Regions from separate parts of the Homo sapiens genome. Here regions 1 and 2 are each linked to region 3. The links are contacts of gene promoters, found by promoter capture Hi-C in human tissues and cell types (Jung and others, 2019). All regions are on one chromosome and are shown on one strand. Each heading gives the region's core, a stretch centred on a gene start or on the middle of the fragment in contact. The rest is flanking DNA. Distances are from core to core; before and after follow the strand shown.

The links. The method cuts DNA at HindIII sites, captures the fragments that hold promoters and counts their contacts. A contact is called where the count stands out against the background at its distance.
Region 1: a fragment that was not itself captured here is called in contact with the fragment with the promoter of ABAT in region 3 in 1 of the 25 tissues and cell types used here (mesenchymal stem cells).
Region 2: a contact is called between a fragment that was not itself captured here and the fragment with the promoter of ABAT in region 3, in 1 of the 25 tissues and cell types used here (lymphoblastoid cells).

What each region holds. Positions count from the first base shown.
Region 1 is chr16:10,503,463-10,508,484 of GRCh38, forward strand. No RefSeq gene overlaps it. Among named protein-coding and RNA genes, the nearest start is that of LINC01290, 22 kb to the right of the region's middle. RefSeq lists an enhancer at 484-1,291. The HindIII fragment of the contact is 3,947 bases long and covers 1-3,448 here.
Region 2 is chr16:10,217,307-10,222,076 of GRCh38, forward strand. It overlaps the pseudogene RN7SL493P. Among named protein-coding and RNA genes, the nearest start is that of GRIN2A, 37 kb to the left of the region's middle. The HindIII fragment of the contact is 4,714 bases long and covers 1-4,661 here.
Region 3 is chr16:8,671,859-8,676,931 of GRCh38, forward strand. ABAT (4-aminobutyrate aminotransferase) reads left to right here and starts at 2,759. Exons shown (of 16, transcript NM_020686.6): 1 at 2,759-2,853. RefSeq lists enhancers at 1,756-2,257, 2,258-2,757 and a silencer at 2,352-2,811. The HindIII fragment of the contact is 24,430 bases long and covers 1-5,073 here.

The DNA of each region.
Region 1 (5,022 bases), core at 225-2,724, 1.8 Mb after region 3:
TAAACTTGCTCTCACTTCTTTTTCACACGAGGTCCAAGAACCCTCTCTTGGGGTCTGGATTGGGACCCCTTTCCAGTGACATCCGCTCTAGACTAATCTTATGTCCTGTGGTTGATGAATCGGGAATCTCTGGTGAATAGGAAAAATTGTTGGATTGGGAGGAGATTCTGGTTTCTGGTTTCCCTGGCTCTCATTTAATATGTAACCCTGAGTAGGTAGCTTTCCCTTCCTAAATCAGTTTCCTCAACTATAATGAGAGGATTTAGATCTCCAAAGTCTCTTTTAGTTCAGACTCTCAAAAAAATCCAAAACACACAGCCAGGCGCAGTGGCTCACGAAGTCAGGAGATCGAGACCATTCTGGCCAACATGGTGAAACCCCATCTTTACTAAAAATACAAAAATTAGCCAGGCATGCGTGGTCATGGACACCTCTAGTCCCAGCTACTCAGGAGGCTGAGGCAGGAGAATTGCTTGAAACTGGGAGGCGGAGGTTGCAGCAGTGAGCCGACATCGCACCACTGCACTCCAGCCTGGGTGACAGAGCAAGACTCCATCTCAAAAAAAAAAAAAAATCCAAAACACACAAGTTATATCAGAGCTGGAAGAATCTGGGAACTCTTACTTTGGGAGATTTGGGTGAGGTTCTTATGGTCTCCTTCACAGTTTGTTTATTTCAGTTCAATCTGATAGATTCTACCCTCAGACTCTATTTATAGTGATTACTGTGTGAAAGGAAAATACATCTCGGGACCCCAAAAATCACTAAGCAAAAGGGAAAAGTCAAGCTGGGAACTATGTCAGGCAAACCTGCCTCCCATTTTATTCCTAAATAACATAGCTACAAAGGTTTGACAACAACAGCAAAAAAAAAAAAAAAAAAAAGCTGCATACCTCCCTCACAAGTTTCCCAGAAGGAAATTCCTTGTGGACAAGGGACAGACAGAACTCAAAGTCTTCCTTCTGCTCACTTGAGACAAATGCCTATCTGATTGCTTCCTCTGCCCTATTGTTTCACTAAACCAGACTAAGGCCTAAGTGACTATTCCTCTACCCTCCTCTCACATGTAAATTGCATATTCAGTGGGAGGCTAATCAGAGACTCAAAGGAATGCACCCCTTGTCTCTCATCTACCTATGACCTGGAAATTCCCACCCTACACCCAGTTGTCCCAATGTCAGAGATGATAAATTAATCTTCAAAAAGCTTTAGTTCTCTGTTCTTTGTTTCTTATGACCAACTTCCTTGTACTTCCTTGTCTCCTAGCTACCTGTTCTGTAAACAACCTTCTCGCCTTTGCGGTGCTTAGATAGACAAGTCCTTCTGGCCTAGTAAAGGACAGTCCCTCTTCCTTCCCATCTAATAGACCCTATTCAGTTTAAACCTTAGCTTAGATTGTGAAGTCCAACCTCAGCCAATGGGGAAAGGACACAGAAGTGCTAGGAACTGCGTTAGGGATAAAACCCCTGCCCTCCCCCGCTCAGTGTGCTCTTGCAGTCATGACTGGTGCAAGCTGCACCTTTCTGCAGAAGTAAATTTGGCTTGCTGAGAAATCTTTTGTTTGAGTGCTCATTTTCTTTATGACTCTGAGCTCTTATTTCTAACACCACCTTTCCAGGCCAAACCAATGTACATCGTACACATATTGATTGATGTCTCATATCTCCCTAAAATGTATAAATCCAAGCTGTGCCCCAACCACAGTAGGCACGTGTCATCTGGACTTCCTAATGTTAGAGGTGTGTGAACCAGAGCAACTCCATCTTCATAGGGGCTGGGTGAAATAAGGCTGAGACCTTCTGGGCTGCATTCACAGACTAAGTCGTTCTAAGTCACAGGACAACACAGGAGATCAGCACAAGATACAGGTCATAAAGACCTTGCTGTTAAAACAGATTGCAGGAAAGAAGCCGGCTAAAACCCAACAAAACCAAGATGGCTACAAGAGTGACCTCTGGTCATCCTCATTGCTACACTCCCACCAGTGCCGTGAGAGCTTACAAATGCCATGGAAATGTCAGCAAGTTACTGTCAGGCCTCTGAGCCCAAACCTGCATGTATTCATCCAGATGGCCTGAAGAATCACAAAAGAAGTGAAAATGGCCTGTTCCTACCTTAACTGACAATATTACCTTGTGAAATTCCTTCTCCTGGCTCATCCTGGCTCAAAAGCTCCCCCACTGAGCACCTTGTGACCCCCACCCCTGCCAGCCAGAGAACAACCCCCTTTGACTGTAATTTTCCACTACCTACCCAAATCCTATAAAACAGCCCCACCTCTATCTCCCTTCGCTTCAGCCCACCTGCACCCAGGTGATTAAAAAGCTTTATTGCTCACACAAAGCCTGTGTGGTGGTCTCTGCACACAGACACGCATGAAAGTTACCCTATATGGTCTAAAAAAGGGGAGGCATGAATAATCCACCCCTTGTTTAGCATATAATCAAGAAATAACCATAAAAATGGGCAACCAGACAGGTGCAGTGGCTCATGCCTGTAATCCCAGCACTTTGGGAGGTCGAGGCGGGTGGGTCACCTGAGGTCAGGAGTTTGAGACCAGCTTGGCCAATATGGTGAAACCCCGTTTCTACTAAAAATACAAAAATTAGCTGGGTATGATGGCATATGTGCCTGTAGTCCCAGCTACTTGGGAAGCTGAGGCAGGAGAATCGTGCCATTGCAGTCCAGCCTGGGTGACAGAGCAAGACTCTGTCTCAAAAAAAAAAAAGGGGGGGCAACCAGCAGCCATCAGGGTTGTTCTGTCTATGGAGTAGCCATTCTTTTATTCCCTTACTTTCCTAATAAACTTGCTTTTACTTTAATCTGTGGACTCACCCTGAATTCTTTCTTGTGTGGAGTCCAAGAACCCTCTCTTGGGGTCTGGATCGGGACCGCTTTCCTGTAACACCGAGGCTGTGTGTCACAGGAATATCCTTAACCTTGGCAAAACACACTTTCTAAATCGATTGAGATCTGTCTTTCATACTTTTGGGTTCACAACTGAAATGTGCAGTGAGACTTATTTTATACCATATTATTTTGTGTATTTTCTTTGTTTATTATCCTTTTTGTTTGCTTATTTTTCTCCTTCTATTCCTTCTGTTGAAACGTTTCCTTTCTTCCTTCTTCCTTCTGCTTGTTTACAGTAATTTCATTGTTTTTCTGTTCTTTCAGTGACTTCCCTCAAATGTCAACATACATTACTTTTTTTTTTTTTTTTTTCGAGACAGAGTCTTCCTCTGTCACCCAGGCTGGAGTGCAGTGGTGCGAGCTTGGCTCACTGCAACCTCTGCCTCCCAGGTTCAAGCGATTCTCCTGCTTCAGCCTCTGGAGTAGCTGGGATTACAGGCATGTGCCTCCATGCCCGGCTAATTTTGTATTTTTTAGTAGAGACGGGGTCTCTCCATGTTGGTCAGGCTGGTCTCGAACTCCCGACCTCAGGTGATCCGCCCGCCTCGGTCTCCCAAAGTGCTGGGATTACAGGCGTGAGCCACCATGCCCGGCCAACAATTTTCAACTCGTGTCAACCTTGTGTCATCTAAACCCTGTATACCTTCTCAGCTCCCATCAGGCACTGAATTATTATGATGCAGATCTGTGATATGTCATTTTATTCATAATGTTTTAATATCAACATACATTCAAAACCTTTTTTCCCAACAAAGTCTAATCCATATCTCTGACATCCTTCCAATCAAGAAAAGGATCTTACAAGAAAATGCCTTAACTACAGGTTGCCTACCCCAGATAAACACCTACTGCCTGATTGATTGATTGAGACAGAGTTTTCCGCTCTTGTTGCCCAGGCTGGAGTGCAGTGGTGCAATCTTGGCTCACTGCAACCTCTGCCTCCCGGGTTCAAGCAATTCTCCTGCCTCAGCCTCCTGCACAGCTTGGATTACAGGCATGTGTCACCATGCCCAGCTAATTTTTTGTATTTAGTAGAGACGGGATTTTACCATGTTGGTCAGGCTGGTCTCGAACTCTTGACCTCAGGTAATCCACCCGCCTCAGCCTCCCAAAGTGCTGGGATTACAGGTGTGAGCCACTGCACCCAGCCTATTTGTTATTTTTATCAATAAGTTTAGACCCATCTTTTAAAAGCAAAAAGAGCTCATTACGGCTGTTTCCAGTCAATAATTGTTTAATTTACTGGCATTTTTATCATATTTCTGTATTCACCATTTTTCTTGCATCCCACACTTTTTCTTTCAATGAGGGGCTATAGGTGTTAAATTCTCTGATTGTGGGTGTATCTGATATATCTTTATTCCACCCTCAATCTCGAACTATGGTTCCAGGAATTGCCAGATTCTACTCATTAATGGATATTTAACAAATTCTGCAATATTCTCTTTACCATCAGCCTTGGCTCCAAACTGCTTTAACTTGGAAAGATATCCAGTCTCTTTACCCTCACTTCTTCCAAACTTCCACAATTCTCTTGCTCTCTTTCCTTAGAGAAGTGCAAGAACTCAATGCAGAACCTATCAATGTATAGACTTTAAGATGAGGTGGCACAGAAGAACAATAAGGGGGGATAGGTTCACATTAAATACAGATAAGTAAAGCTTAAGCAGGATTTTTGGAAAACAGAGACAATGCTAGAGTAACAGGTTTAGTTGCCAAAGGATTTCTCTCTACCCATCTCAGCAAGAGAGAATCAGGTCTCCTGAGATTAATTGGTTTTATTTAATTAATTTATTTTTTAAGATGGAGTCTCAGTCTGTCACCCAGGCTGGAGTGCAGTGGTGCGATCTCGGCTCACTGCAATCTCCGCCTCCCAGGTTCAGGTGATCCTGCCTTAGCCTCCCGAGTAGCTGGGACTACAGGCACACACACCACCAAACCTGGCTAATTTTTGTATTTTTTTAGTGGAGTCGGGGTTTCACCATGTTGTCCAGGCTCCTCTTGAACTCCTGACCTCAAGTGATCTGCTTGCCTCCGCCTCCCCTGAGTGCTGGGATTACAGGTGTGAGCCACCGTGCTTAATAAGTTTTAACTAAGTATTCCAGGCACAAA
Region 2 (4,770 bases), core at 1,055-3,554, 1.5 Mb after region 3:
CTTTGGGAGACTAAAATGGGTGGATCACCTGAGGTTAGGAGTTCGAGACAAGCCTGGCCAACATGGTGAAATCCTGTCTCTACTAAAAATACAAAAATTAGCCTGGTATGGTGGCACATGCCTGTAATCCCAGCTACTCAGGAGGCTGAGGCAGGAGAATCGCTTGAACCTGGAACGCAGAGGTTGCAATGAGCCGAAATCATGCCATTGCACTCCAGCCTGGGTGGCAAGAGTGAAACTCCATCTCCATCTCAAAAAAAAAAAAAAAAAAAAAAGAGGAAGAAGAAGTTAATATCAACACAGAGGAGGAGCATGGGGGCAAGACATAGGCATGGGGTGCCTCTGCCACCAATGGGGAGCCTAAGACAGTCTTTAAGTGGGAGAGGGCCATCTGATTGCACCTTAGATGCTGTCTGCCCTGTTGTGCACACAAAGGGAACAAGAACCTTGAATGTGTCAAGTACCTACTCCATGCACCAATACTGGGAGCTTTATACACAGTATCTTTAATTATTCACAGTAGGAGTGATTATCTCCAACCGTCATGATCAGGGGTTTCAGGTGGTCCTAGTTGACAAGTTTCCCCAGGGGTAACTTCTCTCCTTCCATTTGATCCATGCCAAAGATGAGTCTTAGCACATAAGTCTGATGCTTAAGGAGCTTATTCTGGCATCTTCTTATGAGACAGACAGTGGGAGCAGGAGGCTGGTGGCATGGCCAGACACAGCCAGGGGTCAGATGACGGACTGACCGGGAGGGTGTCCATCCAGAGACCATTATCAAAGTTTGAGGGATCCTTCCCCCTTCCTTCTATCCATATTCAGTCCAGGTCCCTTACCAGGTGTTTCTTACATAAAAGGAGTTTAAGCTATTCTTGTGAGGATAAGCTTTATTTTAAGATTTATGAAAGTTATATCTGTGCCGATTTAACTTTGTCTCCTGGAAATCCCGGGGCCAGGCTGCATCATACTAAGTGACAGGTAGTGTCAGCCCCGCAAGATGCTCGGATGGGTTTTATGGCTACCATTAATCTTATAGCCACCAGATGTCTTTTATCGTATACTACACCAGCTTACAGATGTGGAAACTGAGGCTCAGAGGACTGCACTAATTTGCAGGTCTCACAGGGAGTAATGGAGCCAGGAGCTCCTACCAGCCCTTAATGCTCTTGTCTGCAGCTGCAGCAAGATCGGGGGCGGGGGGCCACTGTGTTCTTATCTGGGATTCTTCACTCAGCATGGGTCTTCTCTGGCTCAGGTGGTGCCAAGAAGCAGTTCTGGAGAGACCTGGGCCCCTGCATTTTGACTTTCTGCCCCTGCAGGTGTTCGCCTCCCCCACATGCAGAACTGTGCCGCCATGAAGGCTAATTATAAGTGCCGGGTATTTATAGTGAGTTTCTCCACCCAGTGCTTCCAGCACCTCGAGGGAACTATTTACAGAATCCTCCCAGCACCTCGGAGAGAAAGGCAGAGCCGAGCAGGGGAAACTGAGGTGAAGCGACGGGGCGACATCTCCCTTGTTAAGGACCCTCAGCCAAGGAAGGCTTGCAGGGCGTCCTCACAGCAAGCACTGGGATTTGATTAGACAGCTGTCAGAGAGAGTAAGAGGAAACCCATGAACGCACACTTCCCAGATGTCTGGCAGCCACAGACTGGGCCATTTCCAAGCACCAGCTCATTTCATCTCTGTGCCTCGATTTTCCAATCTGCAAAATGGGGCTGTGAGGCTATGCCTCATAGACTTGTGAGATTTAAATGAGTTTAAACAGGTCAAGGAGAGAGCCTGGAAGGAGTAAGCTTCAAAAAATGCTATTAACTATTTATTATTTTTTTTATCGCCTTTACATCTAATCTAATAAAGTAGGCAAACATTATCCATTGGGCTTGTTGAAAAATGAAAATAATAATTACATTTTTAATCATTTCCTCTATAGTGCATAGTTAGGCTGCAAGACTATGTCAGAACCAAATTTATTTTTTGCTACACTGATGTGTTGCACTGTGCTAAAGTCAGGGCCTTCAGTACGTCCATCACTGGAGCCACACGCATTATACCCACCAGGCAACCACCTATTGCCTGCGCACCTGACCTCCTCCACACCTCCAAGTCTCCACCGTCCATCACCCCACACTCTGCTTCCATGTGTACATATTATTTAGCCCCTGCTTACAAGTGAGAACATACAAGCATTTGTCTTTCTGTGTCTGAGATGTTTCATTTATGATCATGGCCTCCAGTTCCATCCGTGTTGCTACAAAAAAATTTTCATTCATGTTTACGGCTGAATAGTATTCCATTGCGTGTGTATTTATATAGGTATATATACTACATTTTATTTATCCTGTCCTCCATTGATGGCCTCTCAGGTTGATTCCATATCTTTGCTGTTCTGAATAGTGCTGTGGTTAAACATATGGGTGCAGGTATCTTTTTGTATAATGATTCAGGAAACAAAATGAAAAAGGGAAAGGCAGGTGGGTTGTCTCCACCCAGATCAGAGGGAAAAGGGGAGAAAGGGAACGGGAGGGAAGGGGAAGGAAATGCAAGGGGAAGGAAAGGAAAGGGAAAGAAAGGGGAAGAAAAGGGAAGGAAGGAGATGCGAGATCAGGGGAAGGTAAGCAGGGGCACATATCACCTTGTTTCTGGTTCTCTGCTCCTGGTCAAAGTTCAGCGATCCACAGAGCAAGCCATAAGTGAAAACAGGAAATTATGATAAGATCTTTAGGGCTGCTGCACACACACACACTGCCCACCTCCTAACAGGGGCCAAGCCAAGTGCTAACCACAGGTCATCCAAGTTTTCTGCGTTCAGCAAGATTCCAGTGCCTAAACCATAGAATCCTGGAGATCCTCCCCAAAAAAGCGCAAAATGGAACAATAATTTCTCACCTTGGAGAGACACAGTGAGGATAGCATGAACAAGTGTGTACAGAGTTCCTAGCACATGAAAGGGCCTCAATAAAATAGTCACTATTATTAGAATCCTGGGTTTTCTTTATTATTTATTTTTTAACCAGTGTATGAGTCCATTCTCACATTGCTATAAAGAACTACCTTAGACTGGGTAATTTATAAGGAAAAGAGGTTTGATTGGCTCACAGTTCTGCAGGCTATACAAGAAGTATGGCTGGGGAGGCCTCAGGAAACTTACAATCATAGCAGAAGGTGAAGAGGAAGGAGGCATGGCTTACACGGCCAGAGAAGAAGGAAGAGAGAAGGGGGTAGGTGCCACACACTTTTAAATAAGCAGATCTTATGAGAACTCACTCACTATCCTGAGAACAGCAAGGAGGAAATCTACCCCCATGATCCAGTCACCTCCCACCAAGCCCCTCCTCCAACGCTGGGGATTACAATTTGACATGAGATTTGAGCAGGGACACAGAGCCAAACCATATCAACCAGTCCTTAATATTTTTTATGTGTTAAAATTACAACATGCTTGACATTAAAAACAATTCAAACTTTAAGGAAGAATAAAGACAGGGGAAAAGCCTCTTCCTCTCTCCTGTCTCTCCACCCAAATTGTTGTTGTTGCTATTGTTTTTATTTTCTTGGTAGGAGCAAAAGTCCTCAATCCAGAAAGTCAAGAGACCTGAATCCTCTCCCAGGATGGCCAGCAACCCTCTGTGTGACCCTGGCCAAGTCATTTTCACTCCCTGTGAAGTTTCCTCTTCTGGGAGGATAGACCAGACGAGCTGTTCTCAAACTCTACTGCACATTAAAATCATCCAGGAGATCTAAAAAACTCCAGCACCCAGCTGGCACCCCCAGGCCAATGAATCTTCGGTAGGACCCAGGCTTCAATATATTTTCAAAGCTCTCTGTGGTTTCAACGAACAGCCATGGTGGCAGGAAACTACCCCCTCTCCTCCCAGGTCCTTCTCAAACTTCACTGTAGGCACAGATCATCCTGGTCTGTGCTAAGATGTAGACCCTGGCTCAGGCAGAGATTGGACATTTCTAGCAAGCTGCCAGGTTCTCTTGCTGCTGGTCCAGGAAAAGGGACTAGACCATTGGTTGAAAAGCTTTTGTTAGCTTTGCAATACTTTCTACAAAGGAAATATTGCATGGAAACAGATACTTAACAAAACTGCTCTGATTAAAGTCAGGGTTCAGAAAGGATGGGACAACCGGAGTCTCAGACTCAGATTCACCCCGAAATCCGTGAATTGGGCAGAATTACAACTCCATCAGAGACATCGTGTCCTGATCCCACAACCTTGTGAACATGTTCCGTTACCTGGCAAAGGGGAATTATGTCTTCAGAGGAAATTAAGGCTGTTAATCAGCTAACCTTAAAATAAGATTATCTGGGTGGGCTTAATCTAATCAGAAGAGGTTGTTAAAAGTGGAAGAGAGTGGCTTAGTATTCCCTATCCACTTTCCCTACATTTTCTCCTCCATAGAACTCATCTTCTAATATATTTTATAATATGTACACTTAAGTTTTGTTTTTTAGTTTTTTAGAGGCAGTGTCTCACTGTGTTGCCCAGGCTGGAGTGCAGTGGCTATTCACAGGCGTGATCCCACTGCTGATCAGCATGGGAGTTTTGACCTGCTCCATTTCCAACCTGGACCAGTTCACCTCTCCTTAGGCAACCTGGTGGTCCCCTGCTCCCAGGAGGTCACCATACTGATGCCGAACTTAGTGCGGACACCCAATAGACACAGTGCATTGCAGCTCAGAACTCCTGGGCTCTAGCAGTCCTCCGGCCTCAGTATCCCCAGTAGCTGTGACCACAGGCACATGCCATGGTGCCCGGCAAC
Region 3 (5,073 bases), core at 1,509-4,008:
GGTTGCAGCGAGCTGAGATCACACCACTGCACTCCAGCCTGGGTGACAGAGCGAGACTCCGTCTCTAAAAAAATAAATAAATAGATACAATTAAAATACAGTTATTCGGTTAACTAGTCATTGCTTTTTCCAAAATTTTAAATTTATTTTTCCCTTTTCCTTTTTTTATTATTTCTTTCTTTCTTTTTTTTTTTTAAACATCTTGGATACCAAAATTAGTCATTTCAGGTGTTCAATACCTCCATGTGGCTAGTGGCTACCACACGGGACGGCACAGATATAGAGCATCATAGAAAGTTATATTACACAGCATTGATCTAGCTCTACCTGGTAGATTTAACAAAAAGTAAGATGTTTAACAAAAAGTAAGACAGTACCAAATATACTGTTTTTGCAAATAACTTAACATTTTGAGATTTGTTTTGTTTTGTTTTTGAGACAGGGTCTCACTCTGTCACCCAGCTGGAGTACAGTGGTGTAATCTTGGCCCACAGCAGCCTCAACCTCCCAGGCTCAAGGCTGCCTCAGTCTCCTGAGTAGCTGGGACTACATGCATGCGCCACATCGCCCGGATAATTTTTGTATTTTTTGTAGAGACAGGGTTTCACTATGTTACCCAGGCTGGTCTTGAACTCCTTGGCTCAAGCGATCCTCTTGCCTTGGCTTCCCAAAGTGCTGGAATTACAGGCGTGTCACCACACCCAGCCCCATTCAATATTTCATACCTATGTTTATTGTTCAATTTCATGCAACAATTTCCCTCTGAGTCCCTGCTGTTGTGCATTCAAGTTGTTCCCAGTTTTTCCCTGTGATAAACAAAATGGTAGTAAGCTACTTTATCATTAAATCTTTGTACCTTTAAATGTTTTCAGATAAGTTCATAGGGATTGGATTGCTAGATCAAAGGGTCAACTTACTTTTAAGATTTTTAAAATAGAAATACCCAATTTCCCTCCAGAAAGGCTGTGATCTTTCTACTGCCATCATCAATACATGAAACTCCTTGAAGTCTTTGCAAAGAATAGTAATTATAATAATAAAAACAAGGTCATTTTGGTAGGTAAACTCTTTCCCTCTTTTGGTTTTAACTTGCCTTTCCTTTTCAAAGTGTCATCTCCCATGTTTATTGGCCGTTGTATTTCTTTGGGCAGGTCAAGGGTAGTAAAGGGGATTATGTTCATGGCTTTGGTTTTAAGAAAAAATTGCTAGATTTTCAGCACAGGCCTCATCAAGTTCCTCAAGCAAGGTGACAATCACCCAGGCTAGAGTGCAGTGGTGCCATCTCACCTCAGTGCAACCACTGCCTCTCCATTCAAGCGATTCTCATGTCTCAGCCTCCCAGGTAGCTGGGATTACAGGCAGGTGCCACCATGCCAGGCTAATTTTTGTATTTTTAATAGAAAGGGGGTTTCCCCATGATGGCCAGGCTGGTCTCGAGCTCTGGGCATCAAGTGATCTGCCTGCCTCGGCCTCCCAAAGTGCTGGAATTACAGGCGTAAGCCACTGTGCCAGGCCTCAATTATTCTTATTTACTGCTCTGTGTGTGTGTGTGTGTGTGTGTGTGTGTGTGTGTGTGTGTGTTGGGGGGGAGGGTCCCCAGAGGTGACACTAGGAGGTGAATGATTTGTTTGGCAGCTTTCTATTTATCTATGTGTTTACTTTATCTTAATTCTTTAATTGCAAGGACTATAGCGCTTGTGTAATCAGAGATAGGGCAGCCTGGATTCCTGGACAGCAGGAGGAGAGACCTCAGGGTTCTACAAGACTCCACAGACCAAGTTATCAGTGATCAGGGTGAGTGGGGAGAACCAAGCTGAACTCTTTCTCTGCCTTTAAGGTCTGTACTCTCCATCCATCCATTCATTCATTATGAGGACTTGGTGATCGCCTGTTGTCTTGATGAGCAGTTCTTTGTGTCTTTGATTTTGTCACTGAAAGATTGCATCCTCTTTCCAAATACCTCTAGAAAGCTGTGGGGGGGCTATCCATCCGTCACACCTGAGTATTAATTATCTTCCACACAGCATTTTATACAACGGTAGAAAGGCACCTTCATCATATCTAGGGTCTCGTTTATACCCACGAAGGAGGTACAATCTCTGTTGTCCCAATTTCAGGAAATTGAGGATCAGGAGGCGCAGTGACCTGCTCCAGGTCATGCAGAAGGAACCACCTCTGACTCCCAGCGCCCTGTTTGTCTTCCGGAGCGCTGGGGCCAGGCGGAGGAAAGTAGCTGGGAGCAAGAAGGGCTGGCAGGGCCCTGAGCGCCGAGATGGGGAGTGAGGTGGGGAGGGCGGGATGCTCCTTCCCTTCTCCGCAAAGGAACCCCTTCTGATTCCGACTCTGGAGCTCCAGAGACCGGATCCGAGACGCGGGTGGAGGTGGAGTTACACTCGCCTGCAGCCCTGAGGGTGTAAATGGCCCATTAAGATCCAGGTTAAATCAACCTATGGAGCTGCCCCCCAGAGGGTCAGGGTCCCCACAACTTGACGGGGGTCCTCAGCCGTCTCCTCCCCAGTCCCAGGACTCCCTCCCAGCCCTCGCGGTCCCTCTGGTGGGTCCCGCCCCAGCCCCCGTCTCCCCCGCCCCCGGAGGCTGGACTCTGCCCCCGCCCCGCCTGCCACCTCCCTCCTGGGGGCGGTGGCCCGTGGCGGGCGCACCCATTGGCTGTGGCGAAAGCGAGGGCCGGGGCTGGCGGCGCTGATTGGCCGGGACGCTCGGCGGAGCCAGGGAGTCCGGCGAGTCGCTGGGGGAAGTCGAGCAGACACCCAGCGCTGCCGGAACTCGGGGCGCGCATCCCGCAAGTCGGAACCCGGCGGATCGGATCCCGCAGATCGGAGACGGGGCCTGGAGGTGAGCGCGAGGCGCCGGGTGGCTTGGGACGGGCCCTTCCGAGGGGAGCCGAGAGGAGGTCCTTCTGCCCTGCCCCCAGGAGCAAAACCTGGGCATCTTCTCCTGGAAACGGAGCCCTCATCTTCCCAAGACGCGGGGCCCTCCCCCGAAAAGACAGGGGCTCCCACCCCCCAGAGAGCAAAATACCTTCCTTTCTCCTTCAGAAATGGGCCCTTCCTCCTGGCTCCAGCTCTAGACAGAAGTCCTCTCCCTTTTACCGCTTGAAATAGAATGCGGCCCCAAAAAGTGGTCTCCAGGTCTCTAGAGCCCCCTCACCTCTTGGGAGACTGATGCCCCTTCCCCATCCTTAGAAAACTAAGTTTGGGTGTCTTCCTTCTCCCCTCTCTTTCGGAATAATGGGGGTCTTCTCAGCTTATAAATTACAGTGACCTCCCCCTCCATGACAAATGGAAGCTCTCCCCCCATCATAAGACAAGGAAATCCCGGAGCAGAGACTCTGCAAGTCACCCTCCCACCCCAGATACTGGGCTCTGGAGAGATAGATGATTCACCCTTAGCCCTGCCGGAGACCCCTCCCTACCCGTCAGAGAGGCAGGGTGGCCTCTGACACCACCACATTAAAGGCTTTTGGGGATTTCCCCTCTCCTCCCCAGTAAAGATGTAAAATGAGGGACCTTCATACTCAGGAGCAGGGCAAAGGTCTGGCCACCCCTCCAAGTCATCCACCTCCCTCCACTCCACCCAAGCCCTTTCACACAAACCCCATCCTAGTAACCCCCTGCACCATCCTCCCACCGCTCCCAATCCCATCCTTCTCCACCTCACCCCAACTCCACTCCCACACCTGGCTGCCCCACCTATTTCACATCCTCTCACCTTTCCTCACCCACCCTGGCCAAGGTAAGACTAGAGGGGGTTCAGCGAGATTTAGTAAGACTGGAGCTCTTAAAACTGGGATCTGGGGCCTAGAGGCCCTTCCAGGAGTCTTCAAACTCTGACAACAGAGATGGCCTCTGAGGCAGCAGGACCAGCAGAGACCACCCGCCACCTCTCCCCCGCTCCCTGCCCCAACACACGCACAAAGGCTGTGTTCAATGCATTCTCTCTTGCAGTCTGGGAGGACAGCTGGCCCTCTTCCAAGAGGGCCCGCATTTCCCCCCTAAAGTGTGCACCCCCGCAAGCGCCTGTGGACATTGCCTGGTGGAATTCCCTGGGCACTCAGCCAAGAGAAATGGGTGCTGCTGGGCCCATCCACTGGGGAGGAGACAGTGTTGGCTTTGCTGCTTTGATGAAGCTAGACTAAGGGACAGGATGTTGGTGACCTGGGGGTGGGGAGGGGGTGGGAAGAGCTCTTCTCTGGTGGGTCAGGTTGGGAGGCAGGAGAGAGGGAGGCAGTGAGTTGTGTCTTGCTCTTTGGAGCCTGTGTTGCGGCGTGGAGTCATAGAGAAATGTGTTTTCTCGAGGCCCAAAGAGGTTAGCCACGGGGAGAGGTAAATGGTCCAGTCTGGAGTCCTAAGACCTAAAAGGGCTTCTGCATTAAAGACGTGGCCCCTTCATTTGACAGTTAAACACACAGAGGCACAAAAGGGGAAGAGACTTGCTCAAGGTCACCCAGCCTGTGGGAGACAGCTGGCCCCAACCCCTCCAGGACCCTTAAGGTGCTAGGATCCCTGACACAAGCCCCAGTCCTCACATTTACAATGGGGACTTGGGGACTGCTGGGTCCCAAGTCCCCACTTGTCAGAGGAAGCGCCAAGGCTCTGCAAAGGTCATGAAGCCAGGAAGGGGCAGAGCTGGAACTCAATGCCATCCCCCAGCAGGCTGCCTCGTGGAATCCATTCCTGGGTGTCAGCGCATCCCTGCTTACCCCGTGCGATCTTTGTGTTGAGGCCATTGCCAAATCTAGGCTTGCCAAAATCCAAACTGACCCAGGATAGCTAATAAGATCAGTTGCAGCTAATGAGAATGAGATGCTGGAGTGGAGGCTACTGCAGGAACCTCACTTGCATAGCTGGGTTTGCTCCAAGAACTTTGGACAGGTCCTGAGGATGTCATATTCCTTCCCTCCAAGGTCCCCTCCCTCTTAGCCCCTGCCCACGCCCTCTGGCTTTGAGTTCCCTGCACATTGTCTCATCTCTGTTCAGAGGCCTGCGTCTTTTCTCCTGGGGCATTGCATGGGAAAAGAGCTGAAATTCTGGCAGATTCTCTAGGACCACCCAG